2 separate regions of the Homo sapiens genome follow, and region 2 is linked to region 1. Evidence: promoter capture Hi-C in human tissues and cell types (Jung and others, 2019). All regions are on one chromosome and are shown on one strand. The core of a region is centred on a gene start or on the middle of the fragment in contact, and the rest is flanking DNA. Distances in the headings are between cores, read along the strand shown. Region 1 holds the start of KISS1 (KiSS-1 metastasis suppressor). Region 2 overlaps PLEKHA6 (pleckstrin homology domain containing A6).

Evidence for each region. The method cuts DNA at HindIII sites, captures the fragments that hold promoters and counts their contacts. A contact is called where the count stands out against the background at its distance.
Region 2: a contact is called between a fragment that was not itself captured here and the fragment with the promoter of KISS1 in region 1, in 2 of the 25 tissues and cell types used here (aorta and mesendoderm cells).

What each region holds. Positions count from the first base shown.
Region 1 is chr1:204,190,213-204,197,820 of GRCh38, forward strand. KISS1 (KiSS-1 metastasis suppressor) reads right to left here and starts at 6,279. Exons shown (of 3, transcript NM_002256.4): 1 at 6,164-6,279; 2 at 2,562-2,702; 3 at 129-585. The coding sequence starts at 2,664. The coding sequence ends at 272. The HindIII fragment of the contact is 9,045 bases long and covers 2,157-7,608 here.
Region 2 is chr1:204,278,858-204,286,465 of GRCh38, forward strand. The region is part of intron 1 of PLEKHA6 (pleckstrin homology domain containing A6); the gene reads right to left. Among named protein-coding and RNA genes, the nearest start is that of GOLT1A, 69 kb to the left of the region's middle. RefSeq lists a silencer at 3,858-4,061 and enhancers at 4,646-5,147, 5,148-5,647. The HindIII fragment of the contact is 6,858 bases long and covers 721-7,578 here.

The DNA.
Region 1 (7,608 bases), core at 5,029-7,528:
TAGTGTGAGAAGCACTGACCTTAATGACACCAGAGGCCTCTTGAAATCAGCTAACCATCCATTGAGGATGGAAGGGGAACAGCCTCATCAGAGCTGCTTGCAAAAATGAGCCGCAGACCACACGTCAGTGAGTTACGCAACATTTCTTTTATTGCCTCGGGTTGGAAGCTCCAGCGCCCCCTCCCTTAGCCCTACGTCCCCGCCCCCCGCCCCCGCCCCGCATGCTCTGACTCCTTTGGGGTCTGAAGTTCACTGCCCCGCACCTGCGCCCTCAGCCCCGCCCAGCGCTTCTGCCGTGGTTCCCTGGTGCCGCCTCCCGCTTGCCGAAGCGCAGGCCGAAGGAGTTCCAGTTGTAGTTCGGCAGGTCCTTCTCCCGCTGCACCAGCACCGCGCCCTGGGGTGCGGGGATCTGGCGGCTGTGGGGGGCGGACAGGCCCGGCTGCTGGGGGCTCCCGGAGCTCTCGGGGGGCGGGGACAGCGAGGTCCCCCGACGGCTCAGCCTGGCAGTAGCAGCTGGCTTCCTCTCGGTGCACGGCAGGCTCTGCTCCCCGGGGGCCAGGAGGCCCAGGGATTCTAGCTGCTGGCCTAGGACAGAGGGCACAGAAAGATGAGGCCGGGGTCCGGGAAAGATGGCTTTGCAACACCTCCTGTCATCCCATCCTATCCTTCTTTTCCTTCCTTGACCTTTTGGAAGCTCGGAGCTCAGTGCCATGCGAACCAGCACGATCACCTTAGCTGGGATGATTAGGCCCTAGGCGCCTCCCTCTTCCAACATAGCTTTGATTTAGAATGTTTGCCAGAATTATCTTAAATAACTCTCATATTACGTTACTTCCTTTTAGGAAACAAACAGGGTAGGGCATGGAAATAAAGAAAACCAAAGTATTTGCTGAACACCCAGCTCTGGGCCCCTTCCTGGCTGTGAGCAGCCTGGGCAGTGGGGCCATGTTAATTCATCTCTGTATCTCTCATAGTGCTTGAAACAGTGGCTTGCTCATAGTGGGGCCTCAATAAATGCCTGTTAAATACATAAAAGCTAAAAACGTGTAGTAACAGAAATCGAGAAAGTGGAGCTAAGACATTGTGGCCCCACACACCTGTGTTCCAACACTCGTCTTTGATAAGAATTGTGACCACCCACCCCCCCAACCCCGCCCAATAAGCTACATAAGGACTCAATGAGAAACAAAAATTATCTAGGTCACCTTAACTGGCTCTCTTCCTCCATCCTGGGTATAACTTCTCTCCTTCATTCTGAGGATTAACAAGGCTAATTTGGAAGGCACTTCACATGCAAGGCTCATTAAGTTCACTGTACTTTTTGGCTGTAAAATAGGGCAACTAGCTCTGTGTAGACAATAACCCCAGCCCATTGCGGCAAGAGATTAGTGGAAATGAGGCCTGGTGTGTGAATGGGTGTGAATAGATGTGCTGGGGCGGCAGTTGGCTTTGAGCCCTGCTCCTCCGTGCCCTGGCACAGTCTGGAAAAGAGGAGTGTGGACCTGGTCCAGAGTTAATGGCAGTCGCCTGCGAGGTCCCTCAGCCCTTGCCCAGGGCCTGGCTGAGGTAGGAGGAGGATGGCTTCCTCCCCAGTTGCGCACGCTAGACCAGTAGTAAATCACTGTTCAGGCTGCTGTTGGTGACCTCACCTAAAGCCTTTTGCCAAAAAGAGCCAACAACCCTATATCCCTGGGCAGTGTGGGGTTATTTTCTGGGGTAGCCTCCCTCACCCAGAAAAACGCCTGATCCCAGGACAGAAGACACGCTTGGCAAACGACACCCGGGGCCGTGTCCTCTGTGCTCTGGAAGGTCTTATGGGCATATACGATGACATCAAATGTGTAGAGGGCATGCCCCAAGTTTTATAGCTGGGGGAACTCAGGTCCAGAGAAGCTAAGTCATGGGTTCTAGTTTGCCCAGAAAGCTGACACCAGGAAGTGTGCCAAGCCACAGCTCCTGACTTGGGGACTAGTATTGTTCTAGCTTGTGCCACTCACCAGACACACTCCTGGGGAGCTCTGACACCTGCTGGGTTTCCACAGTGTTTGAGCGACTCTGGGGAAATCTCTTTACCTCTGTGGGTCTCAAATTTTCCAGCTTATCAGTTCCCCAATGAACTGGAGACAGTTCATTGTCTCCAAAAGGTTAATAGGTATCAAATATCTGCCCTTTGGTTTAGGTTTTTTTTTTTTTCCAAATTCTCCACAAAGAATCTGAGGTCACCGATAAAGCAAGGTTGCATATGAAGTTTCTTCTCAACATCGGCACAGAGAGGTTGCTGACGTAGAGCAGAGAACACAGTGTGAGGAAACCATGAAAGAGCTCAAGGGTTAATAAGCCCTGGAACCTAGGTGGGCGGACTGAGGCCATCACAGAGGCAAGGCATCCGTCACTTGCAGGGTTAACAGGACCCCCTCAATGAGTTGCATGTGTGCCAGTCTTAGATTTCCACCAAATGCAATGTTAAACTCACACCAGTCGACTAGATGGAAAATACGGGAAAGCTCATTTTGCAACAACCCACTTGCTCCCTCCCACTCCTTTCCCCAGAGGATACATACCTGTGGGTCTAGAATTCCCCACAGAGGCCACCTTTTCTAATGGCTCCCCAAAGTGGGTGGCACAGAGGAAAAGCAGTAGCTGCCAAGAAACCAGTGAGTTCATCTTGGTGAGAAGAGGCAGGTCCTAGAAGTGCCTTGAGGCTGAGACAGAGAGAGGGAACAAAGACTAGGTCAGGCACAGGATCTGGGCTGGGTGCTGAGGGCAGAGCCCAGTGCAAAAGGGACAGTCCTCCAAGAGAGGGGCAAGTTCTTGCCTTTGGAGGCTCCTGGTAGAGGGATGAGTCTAAACAAATATATCAGTGAAATGGGATTGAGACTCTTTACACAGTGTAGTTAAAGCTGAATTCATGCTAGGTGAGGGTCATCAGGGAGGGCTTCCTGGAGGAGGTGAGGACAGTAAAGTTAGGAAAAAAGGAAAGACCCAATTTGGTGGAAGGGGCAGGACTGCTTGGGTCAGAGAATGGCCAGGATTCTGAATCTCAGGGTTGCTTGAGAGGAATGTTTGAGAAAGGTGGGGTGAGATGCCATATATAGGAGTGACTGGGGAGGGGTGAAGTAGGGCAAGGACTTCAGGGCACTGAGTGGGGAACTTTGAGGTTCCAATATTCTCTCGGGAGCCTGGCAACAGGCACTTCTTCCTTCCATGGTGGGTTCTGCACAAATCCACAACTTTCTGTGTTCCACTCTCCCCATCCATACGCTTGAGTCTGACCTTGTTCTCTCCTGCTGTAAGAGAAACTTATTTCTTTTTCTTTTATAAGGAAAAAGAAAGAAAGAGGCAATCATCTTGCTCTCTCTCATAGCCCTTCACAGCCTTGAAGACGGTCATTAAATTGTCTTATTGCCTATCATTCATGGAAAAGAAAAACCTTTCCTTGATTTATCAGGTCAGTTATCTCCATAGTCTATTCTTTGTGGACTCTAAGAGGCTATGAATTGAATTGGCCTCATCATTTTGGCTGCTGAGATGGGAGCCGTGTGCCCTGATCCTCACACCATTTCCCATCACCCTGCCTTGCTCTGCCCCACCGACACCCCACATACCCCACCCTACCTCTTCCGGCTCCCAAATCTAATTTCTTTTTGAAAAAGTCACCAGACACTTTGAGACTGTCCAACAAACACGATTAAAGACAAAAGGCTGGGGAGGCAGGAGCAATGCCAGCTGAGCAAAAAGATTGTCCTGGCCTGACCCACAGCCTGGAGCCGCTCTCCCTGGGGAAGGGGGACTGGGGGATGAGAACCTTTTGTGCCCATCAGCTCCTAATGGTGGCTCAGGCCCATGCATCTCTCTGCTCTTGCACCCACACCCCCACCCCCCATTCCTCACCCAGCTCCCTGCAGGACTCAGGCATGGAGTAAAGAGTAAGAACCCTGAAATGGAATGAGGAGTACTTGAATCTTGCCCCAGCTCTGCTTTCATTCCCTGTGAAATGTGAGCAAGTCACCCCCATCTCCAGACCTCATTGGTCCATCTATAAAATAAGAACCCTGGATCAGATTGGCCACCAGCCACCTGCTCAGAAGTTTACTTATCCTTGCAGACTTTGATACTGTGACAAGTTGAAACCCAGACCACAGCTTTCTGCATTTACCTTAAGGCCCAGGGCTGGGGCACGGAGTAGAGGTAGGATTAATCCATTGGAGAGAATAGTGTAAAAGCATTTCAGACCGTGGATGCACAGGGTCTGGGTTGATTTGGAAATCACTCCTTGAGCACCGACTAGGTGCTGGTGCTGTGCTAGGTGCTAGGGGTGCACAGGTGTGCTAAGACAGAGTTGCTGCCCCCAAGATCTCAAGTCTAGCATGAGAAATTAACTCATCAGCAGATCATTTCAAAATAACACTGTAAATGACATACCGGATGCATGTGAATCCACAAGGGGATATGGGAGTCCAGGGGAACCCAACCTAGGAGGACCAGGCAGATTTTTGGCAGGGGGTGGCACTTGAGCTGTTTCTGAGCATGAATCGCTGAAAGGTTTACAGAAAGTGTTCCCAGGACGGTGCTAAGGCGCTGAAGCAAGGGCAGGGGCTGAGTGCAAAGGGAACTTCAGGCCCTCTAGCTAGACAAGAGGATGGAGCTTTGCATGGAGAGAAAGCTAGTGACAAGGCTGGGGGAAGGGGCCCTGCAGGGGCTTCATCCTGGAGGGGTCTGAGCCAGACAGGAATGTGGGTAGATGTACATTTCCGGTTCTCTGTGCGGAAGCAGGGTGGTGGGCCAGGAAGGAGGGCAGTGGGCTTGTGTGGTTGGAGGGTGGTACTCTTTCTTCCGGCTCCCCTTTCCCCCCGAGTGCCTCCTTCCCACTGTGGATGGCACTTACCATGTGCGCCATGGGACAACTCTGCCTGACCCCAGCACACACACACACACCCCCCACACCACACACATACACCACACACACCACACATGCACACACACACCACACACATATATACGCACACACCCATACACATATACACGCATACACCCATACACACACATCATACACACACACATACACCACACACACCACACACATACACCCATACACACACATACACATATGCCACACACACCACACACGCATACACACCACACACATATACACACATACACCTATACACACACATCATGCACACACACCACACACGCACACACACCACACACACATATACACACATACACCCATACACACAACATACACACACACATACACACATCCATACATACACATCATACACACACATACACCACACATACCACACATGCACACACACCACACAGATATATACCCATACACCCGTACACATACACTACACACCACAGATGCACACACACGCCACACACATATACACACATACACCCATACACGTACATCATACACACACATACACCACATACACCACACATGCGCACACACATCACACACATATACACACATACACCCATACACACATATCACACACACACACACACACACACACACACACACACACAGATTCCACTGCCCAGCCCATCGGGGCACTTAACATATATGGTAGAAATGAATTATTTGGAAAGGGGCCATGAGTGGCCGACCTGCTGTAGACAATTTTTGTGGTTCCCTCCACCCTGGGGGGTTTGTATCCAGTGAGTGACAGAAATTCCAGGCATGGTTGGAAAGCTTCTGGAGTGAAGTGGCCCCTAGTTCTTAGTGGGTAGGTAGATGCCCTTGGTTAGGCTTGTATTTGCCATCTGTAATTTGGGGGGAGCTGCTCAGAGGAGCCCCATTGCTCTCAAGAGCCCCGAGCGGTTCCCTAGGTCCATCCAAGCGTGTCTGTGGTCTCTAATTCCAGCCACAGCATTTATTTATTGCATGTATTCCTTCCACAGCAAGAGAGAGCCCTCGGGATCCCCAGAGTGTTAGCTTCACAAATAAAGTGCGACTCAGTGTATTCGCCCAGGCATCCCAGGATAATCTGGCCAGGCTGGTAAACAGGAAAGATCAGTGTCTCCCTCCCCTGCCTTTGCCTGCCTGGATGCATCTGTCCGTCTTAGAACGGATTCCCTGCTCCCCTCCAGAGCATCCCCAGGTCAGGGCAGACCCCCTTCCCAGGGGTGGACACTGCAGTGTGCCTACCTTGCCTCAGTCCTGGCCTGGGCAGGAGTCTGGCGGAGCCTCTGAGGTGACGAGACCACCTGGCTGGGTGAATGTCCAGAGGGTGGGCAGCTGGGCTCCCGGTCTCAAGAGTTCTCCCCAGCTCCCTGATCACATCCCTTTTATAAAGCCCGGGGTGACGTCTCCAAGCACAGGCCCACTCTGCCGCCCCTCCCTCCTCCTCAGACCCTCCTGAAGAGCATGGCACCTTGGGAGGCCTCTGCCTCCGGGCTCTGTGACTGGAGGCAGCCTCTCCTCCTGCCCCACCCGAGCCCTCCGAGGCGGGACTTTCTCCTTCTTACCGGCTCTTTCCATCCTCCACACCCTCTTCCCACCCAGAGGACCCATCCTGCCCCCAAACAACGTGGAAATGGGCTATCTGAGGAGGGTGGGGAGAAGTGTCAGTGTGAAATGTCTTGTTTCCTCTCCGAAGAGCCACAGACACACCTAGTCTGAATTAGACGTAGAAAACGACAGGAAGAGGGGAGGAGAAGGGCACAGGCTGACCCAGGGGCTCCTCACATCCCATGCTCCCAGCTCTGAGGGAAAGCCAGGTCAGCGTGGGTCTCCAGGCGGCTCCTAGACTGCGCCCTGTGACTGGCACAGGGTGGTGGTGGCAGAGATTCTCTCCTTTTTCCTTCCTTCCTGCTTCCCTTCTTTCCTCGGTCACTGAGCGCTTCCTCAGCGCAGGGTTTTGAGGTGAATAGGCTATGGACTGGTCAGAGACCTTAGGTAAGCAACCAGCTATGAGCAAGGAGGACGAAATGGGAGCTGCAGAAGGTGGATGCACCTGGGAAGTGCCAGGGGTGCAGAGAGGGGACTTCCAGGTGGCAGCACATCCAGACAGCCTGCTTGGGGGCCCCACCTTCTTGTCTCGTGGCACCCACCACCATACTATTTTGTGACTGCTCAGGTACAGCACTTTGAGGACAGGGACAGGCCCCCTTCCCCCTGTACCCTTGGCACCCACTCCATTGCTGGGCACATACAGAGAGGGCCCTCAATAGATATTTGCTAACTGCATGCATCGCAAGTGACTTTTGTCTCTTTCTTGAGCCTGCAATAACTCTCTATACCCTTGGACAAGGGGCTCTCCAGGGCAGAGACTGTTTCTTCTATCAGGCTGGGAGTCTCTGAAGGCAGGGGCTATGTCTCTACCCTCAGACAGGACGCTCTCCCAGCACAAGCTCAACCTGGTCGTCCCCTAATGCTGGAGAAGCATGCCGGCAGTCTGCAGGTTAGCACCCCTCACTTGTCTGATGCTTACTGTTAACAGGGGATTGCAAACATATTATTATCACACCCATTAGGGCTGTTAAACACCAGGACAGAAATGATAGCCTATGAGGACAGCACTGACCCTCATAGACCAAAACTTCGCTGTGGGGATGATGTGTACGTTGGCCTGTCCTGAAGCAGGAGGTGGT
Region 2 (7,608 bases), core at 2,900-5,399, 87 kb after region 1:
GAATGAATAATAGAAACTCTCCAGCCCTGACTTAATTTTTAACCACCTGCATTTGGAGTTTGACATTCTATCACCGAGGGCTTCCCTATCTTAGCTCTCTCTTAAAATTAATTACTTCCTCTCCATGAGAGAAGCTTTGCTTCTGCCCCCTCGCCCCCTCACTCAGCTTCCCTGCCTAGCTCCCCCTTGAATACATAGCTTGGCTTTGATCCACCTTCAGTAGGACGGGAAGAAAATTAAGCTCATCTGCACAGAAGGAGGAGGGGGTAGGGGCGCTTTGGGAAAATGAGCTTTCTTCCTCTAGAAGGCAAAAATATCCCCTTTCACTTCAAGCTGAGCTCAGGGGCCTCCCACAGCCTTTGCTTAAGCTGCAAGTTAAATTACTTCTCCTATGCCCTGTAAAGATAGCACAAGGGAGTAGGAACGAAGGAAGGCTCAGGGGCTTCCCCTGCTCATCAAGAGCTCTGAACTCCTAGGAATTAAGTCTGCACACAGAATGTCTAGCAGCAGTTCTTTCCCTTTGCCAATAAACTGCAGAGTATGGCAAATTTTCATTTTAGTTAGACATCAAGAAGAACTTACAAGAGGCAGAACATTAAAAAGGGAAACAAGGACAGGTAATCCGTTTTCTCCTTCTTCTCTCCTTCCTTTTGGGATGTCAAAAGGCTTCCATTTGTCAAGGACAAATGATTATGAATCCATGAATACATACCCAAATGGACCTTTCAAATTCCACCCAAGAGAAGGGAAAATCTCAAGTGGTAAAGGAGATTGTGCGGTGGAGGTAGAAACAGCCCTAAACTCCAGAGCAGTCCAGTAGGTGGTCACTTATCCACAATGAGGGTGGCCCTGATGGCAGTGCCATCAGTGGAAACAAACATGGCAGGACCAAACATTCAGTCCAAGATCCAACCTGAGTTAGGAATATGACTTTATTTCTTGGGCCCTTAGTTTTCTCATGTGTAAATGAGGTACCTTCTAACTACATGAAATAATAGTGCTCACTTCACCAGCACAGACACTAATTCTATGAAATAATAGCTGTAAACTTGCAAGATATAGACCATTTTTTGCAGAAGAGATAATGGCTATGATCATTCTACTTAAAAACAAATTAAGATATATGCCAGATGAAGGAGCGAAAAAATGAAAAATACTTAGTCCCAGGCTTAAGAAGATCGTGTATGGGGCACAGGCTGGGAGTGCCAGGGGCAGGCACTCTGGAAGTCTCAAGAGCGATAAATTACAAAGAAAAGAAGCAGATCCTCTCTATTTTTCCAGGCCTTTGTCTCTGCACCTATTTAAAGCTTTCCTGTAGTTCAAGAGACATCCTCAACCCCTACAGTACCTCACATAGAGATAACTCTGCATTGCTTCATCTCCAAACATCCCCCTGGAGAGTCAGCCTCCACGTGCAGTATACCTGGCACTACACTGTCAAGAGTGGCAAAATTAATCCAAGTTTCACGATCTTTTGCAGGCATGTATGTTTACACATGCACACACACTCCCAGGCTGGATGCCCAGAACCCCACTGTGATCAATATTGAACGACTGGAGAAATACTCCACTCCTTCCACCCACTGGGCCTCTCTTGATTATCTGCTGTACACCAAGCTGCTTCATTTCCATAGCTCCTGAGAATCTGCTGACAAAGAATTAGCCCTGGCCCAGCTTCCCCATCCTGAGGACGCCTTGGCTTCCAGCATTACAGCTCATTAGGTGGAGAGAGGTTTGCATGCAAGGCAAGTGGAAAGGGGGTCCCATCCCTTCCACTTCCTTCTTTCTCCCAGCTAGCAAATTCCAAGCCGAGACTGTCCATGCTCCAGAGAGGATTTCTGCTGCCACAGAGGAGGGGAAGGTGGGGAGAAGGTTGGCTCCTGCTCTGTGCCTCCCCATCTGGATCTCATCATTATTTTCAAGGAGGCTTATCTGCTTCAGCATCCTGTCCCAATTAAAAACCAACTCAGTTTATGTTTCCAGCCATCTTCATGCACCTGATTCCTGAAGCTCCCCCTGCCATTTCCAGGAGAAAATACACTTTCCTAGCCACTTCTCATCAGAGGCCCTCTGTTTTCCTACCTATTGCTGCCACATAAAGAAGAGGTCAAAGAGGGTCAGGCCCTGGCAGCACTTCTAGGTATTTGCAGGTGGGAAGGAACCCCTCCAAACAACACTGCCTTAGCCAGGCATGGTAGCACATGTCTGTAGTCCCAGCTACTCAGAGGCAGAGGCAGGAGGATCACTTGAGCCCAGGAGGTCGAGACTGCAGTGAACTATGATCACACCACTGCACCCCAACCTGAGGCACAAGACCCTCGTCACTAAAAAACAACAGAGCAAGGCCCCCATCTCTAAAAAAAACCAAAAACAAACAAACAAAAAAGGCCGGGGGCGGTGGCTCACACCTGTCACCCCAGCACTTTGGGAGGCAGAGGCGGGCAGATCACGAGGTCAGGAGATCAAGACCATCCTGGCTAACACAGTGAAACCCTGTCTCTACTAAAAATACAAAAAATTAGCCGGGCCTGGTGGCGGGCACCTGTAGTCCCAGCTACTCAGGAGGCTGAGGCAGGAGAATGGCGTGAACCCAGGAGGTGGAGCTTGCAGTGAGCCGAGATTGCGCCACTGCACTCCAGCCTGGGCAACAGACAGAGATTCCGTCTCAAAAAAACAAAAAAAACAGAGTAAGACCCCTGTCTCTAAAAAACAACAGAGCAAGACCCTCCTGTCTCTAAAAACAACAACCCCTACTGTCTCTCTTCCATGTGCTCCTTGAAGATCAAAATACCAGTTCTCTGGGTGCTGGGAACCAGCTGCCAGTGGCTGTCACCCAGCCTTGTATTTGCTTTCACCTTTCTTCTCTGCCCTTGCTCATCCCCCCTTTGATGCCACAGTTATTTCCAAACTGTCAAGAAGATGGTACCTCCCTGCCCCAAGCCAGTTTATTGAAATGTTCTAAGCTACTCGGCTGCATGTCTAGGAGACAAGACTCATGCTGCTCCCTTTCCTGCTTCACTCTGCCCAGCCACACCGCACCCCCAGCCCCATCCCAAAACCTGTTATGGGCAGTTATGGAAGGCTGGGGGCCTTCTACGTGAGCTCAGCTCCCACCACAGGCAGAAGATAGAAGAGATGGCTCCGTGGACAAGGGAGAGAAATCACAAATCAGGGGGCCAGGTCCAGGTTTCTTCCCTTCCAGCTCAGGTGCTGTCCTTCCCCCATTTTCTCACTGTAGTGTCTCCCAGCCCCTGCTCTGGGCCTGGGTGGTCCCTTATTCCTATGAGAGGAGATAGGAAGGCCTAAGATGGCAGACTGAGGGCAGGAGGACAAGGTGTACTTCAGTCAGGGTAACGGGTTCAAGCTCATGTGTGTGCACGCACGTGTGTGTGCATGAGAGAAAACATGGATACTATACAGGGGAACTTCATCCTGACCTCCCACCCTAGCTTGGTTCATCTTTAAACTGGTTGTTTTACTTTAGGGAATTCCATCTGTCTGCTGAAAAATGAAGACAACCAGAGTAGATAGCATAACTCTGCCAGTGATTCAAATACTGAAGCTCTTCCATGTTGGTGGGTGAAAAGCTGCTCCCCCAAGTCCCTCGAGTGTCCCTGCCCCATCTCTGGGCCAGGGTCTGAGACCTCCTCACATCTCCATGACCCAGAGACAAAAGAGTTAATGCCTGGCACCACAGGGCCCTCCAAGACTCCAGGCCAGCATCCTTTCTGGTTGATGAATTATTGAATATCATTCCCGGGTACAGCCAGTCCTTAACTGTCTCAACACTGAAGTGTCTTCCAATTGTGGGGAACTGCGATTCTACCACCCAGAAGCTGCCATGGGCAGGCTGGGAGACACTTTCTCCTTCACCCTGACCCAAATTGGAGAACTGGGGCAATCCAGCTCCCTGGAGCTCCTCCTTGTGCTGTGTGCTCTTGTTCCCTTCTAAAGAGAGGGGGAATTCAAAGGAGAACCAGCTGCCTACAGCTCTGGGTTTTCCTCCTCTCAGCCTTTCCTCAGTAGCTAAGCCAGACAGAAGCAGAGAAAAAAGGCCCCAGCCCCCTCGCCTCCAAGTTGCCTTCTCCTGACAGCCAGCAATGTGGAACGGATCCCAAGGGGTAACAGGGCAGGGCAATAATTAATTATGCCCCCCCACCGCCCCGCCGCCTTCCAGCTCTGAGTTGAATCTCAAACCCCTGCCCTTCAGTGGCTGAGGCAGCCCAGCTGTCCGCCGCCGGGTCTATGGAAGGTCATTGAAACCATGTCTCTGCATCCCTAACTCAGCAGATCTGCTTCTGGTGTCCTACGGAGAGCAGCGACCCCACCCTGCCCCACCCAACGAAAGGAATTTTACAAAGTGGGTGTTTGGAGAGTTATGAAGCTGGCTGATCTCTCTCCTTCCCCATCCTCAAAAGCTACCAGTGCCTTCTTGGTTCCCAATCCAGCAATTTGAGAATCAAGCTGTCTGGTATCTTAGTTTTCTCATTTTAACAGTAAAACAATGGTATTGAGTGATGCCTTGTTGAGCAGACAACACAAATCTCCCACTGGACCAGAGAGCAGAGGAAGAAAGGTTATGATGCTCTGAAGGCATGTGGAATGAAGAGAAAAATAAAACGCATGCAATCTCTGGTCCTTACACTGGGAGGGAGGCAAGGAAGGCCCATTTTAGAATCAGGGAAGCTGAGGTGCATTGTCCCAGCTATAGTGACAGGAGAGGTCAGAAAAATTTGAGTCTTGGGCTCCCTTCTTTCTGTTCCTGCGATGCACCCAATCTGAGCTCCCTGCCCCTAGGAAAGCAGGAGAGAGCTTCATGGTTCAGGGGGAGATGCCAGCTTTTCAAGGTCTGCTCCAAGAACACAGTAATGAAAGCCACAAACTCTTTCACTGGTAATATCTGTGGGCTACAGGTCTGGGGACTGTGTGTGATGTGGGCTGGGGGCTACCCACAAACTTTAGTCTGACAACAGCTGCCTGGATGTAGGGGCATGGAAGGGCAGCCACACAAACACTGTCCACAGCCTGGCCTTTATTGCTGTGCCCCTGCCCAGCACCTCACACACAGGGGAACTGAATAACTGTTTGAGTTTGATGGAGCAGCTGTAGGGCAGGCCAGCAGGCTCACCACTGCCTGGAGGAGGGGGCACGTGCTGTTCCAGTTGGGATGCTGAATAGCGGCTGAAGGAGACAGGAGCTCAGCCTCAAATCCCTCTCGCCGGGATCAGTGTGCACAGTGCATCTGCTTCATGCCCCCTCCTGTCCCTCCCCTCCCTACTGGCCAGCCAGACTCTGATAAGAGTCTACAAAGCAGAAGCTTTGCCCTGGGAAGAGGAAAGCAGTAAACCAGCCAGAGCTGGAGAGCAGGAGCCTCCTGGCTGGAGGGTAGCACAGCAAGGGTTGAGGGGCAACAGCAGGCTCTAATGTAGTGCTGCTCCTCACCTGCCCAGGGAGACCCATTCTGCCTCCGGCCCCCAAGGAGGGCTCAGCTGATGTTCTCTCTCAGACTGGGAGTAATAGGGTAAGCTGGAGCCAGGTGGATTGTGGGAAATTATGAACACCTCCTTTTGCCAGGAGCAAGGAATCTGGAACTTCCCCTGTACTTGGGGAGCTTGCCAAGGACTCTGAGGGCAAAGCGATATCCCTGCACTGCTGCCTGCTGGTGGGGGATCCAAAGGGAGCCTAGGAACAAGGGCCACCCAAGGAACCAGCCAGAAAATGACTGTGCCTAGGAGAGCACTTGCTGCAGACTGAGACGATCCTTTGTGAGCTCCCCTGACGCCCCCGAGAGGAAGAGGGAGATCTGGAAAGGGACTGGAGAGTTGTGAAAAAAGCTGGCACATGATGGCAAGGAATGGACAGCGTGTGGATTGTCCTTAAGGAAAAGGGTAAGGCCGGTGGTCTCAGAGTCAGGAGTCTTGGTAACTGACCACTACTGAGTCACTGTCCCTTTCTGGGTCTCAGTTTCCCCACCTGCAACATGTAACGATACTGGAGTTGCTGGGAGGACTAAATATTTAAAACCTCTAGAAGAATGCCTGGCACATTGAGTTGTTTAGTAGTGGCTAATGTTATAATCATTAATAAAATAAGGGAATACAATAAATAGCACTATCCTAAATTTGCACCAAGTTGATAGCCACTAGCCGTATTCTATCTTGAATAATTAAAATTAAATAAAATTAAAATTTCAGTTCCTAGTTACACTAGCCACATTTCACTGTGTCTCAAGAGCCACAGTAGCTAGTGGTTACCATACGGGACAGAATAGTCACAGGACATTCCATCATTGTAGAACATTCTATTGGACAGCACTAGGCTAGATGTTCTCTAAGCCACCTTCCAGTTCTAATAGTTTTGAATTCTATGAAATGCAATTCTAAGCCAGTGTATCCTTCCACCAGCTGATGAGCTCAGTGTCTTCAGTAAATACAAGTTCCCTCATAGACCTAAACTAAGCTAAAAAGAAAGGAAAATCTGCTGTCAACAACAAAAAGTTAAAAATCAGAAATGATATACTCCAAAGTTCACTCAGAATTAATCTGGACAATCCATTGTTTTCGTTTTTTTGGGTTTTTTGTTGTTTTTGTTGTTGTTGTTGGTTTTTTTTTGGTTGTTTTTGTTTTTGTTTTTTTTGAGACACGTTCTTGTTCTGTATCCCAGGCTGGAGTTCAGTAGTGCGATTTTGGCTCACCGCAGGCTCCGCTCCCTGAGCTCAAGCAATTCTCCCACCTCAGCCTCCCCAGTAGCTGGAACGTCAGGCACGGGCCACCACGCTTGGCTAATTTGTTGTATTTTTAGTAGAGACACGGTCTCGCCGTGTTGGCCAGGCTCATTATTTTTAAATCACATGCATTAAGACTCCTCTGCACAGTTTGAAAGTATCATTACTAACAGCACTGGCCTGGTAGGAAACACTGGAAAAGGTCATCCAGCAGCTTAAGGAGGCTGGGAGAGAAGAGTTGGAGAAGGAAGAAGAGTTGGGGAGGAGGCTGGAGACACAGAGGACCTGTTCCTCCCTCCTGCTTTCCTTTTCCTTCCTGGATTGGCCAACCTCTAGCTGACGCTTGGGGGAGGAGGAGGAAAGGGAGGTCTTCTGTGGGGCCATTTGGTCCAGAGCAGGAGAAGCTGGCATGGAGGAGGACAGGGTAGAGGAAGTACCACCAAGGACAGCAGGCTTAGGATTCTTCCTTCCCTGCACCTCCCCTTCCCCACCCAGCACTCATCCAGACCTGGATCCTATGGAAATCACAGGTAAACAACCTGTTGCTAAGCAGACATCACAAGAAGCAGGTGCCAGAGAGCATCCACTGATAACCGGGGCTTACAGAGGGGAGGGAAGACAATCTCAGAGGAACGGAAGAGGTGCTCCTAGGCCTAGACCTAGCCTAGAGAACCTGCTGGCTATAGCCCAGATAAGGAAAAGAGAGGGCCTGAGAAGGAAGGCAGGGAGGCAGTCAGACAAGGGACACTGCTGTTCCCACCCCTGTCCTGCCACGCAGCAGCCGTGAAGAAAGACTGGGCATGGAGGCTGTGACAAGGAGGAATAGAGTACTCTGGGAGGGGAACAGAGAGGAGGAAAGGGAAAGGGATGCAGCACAGGTGCCA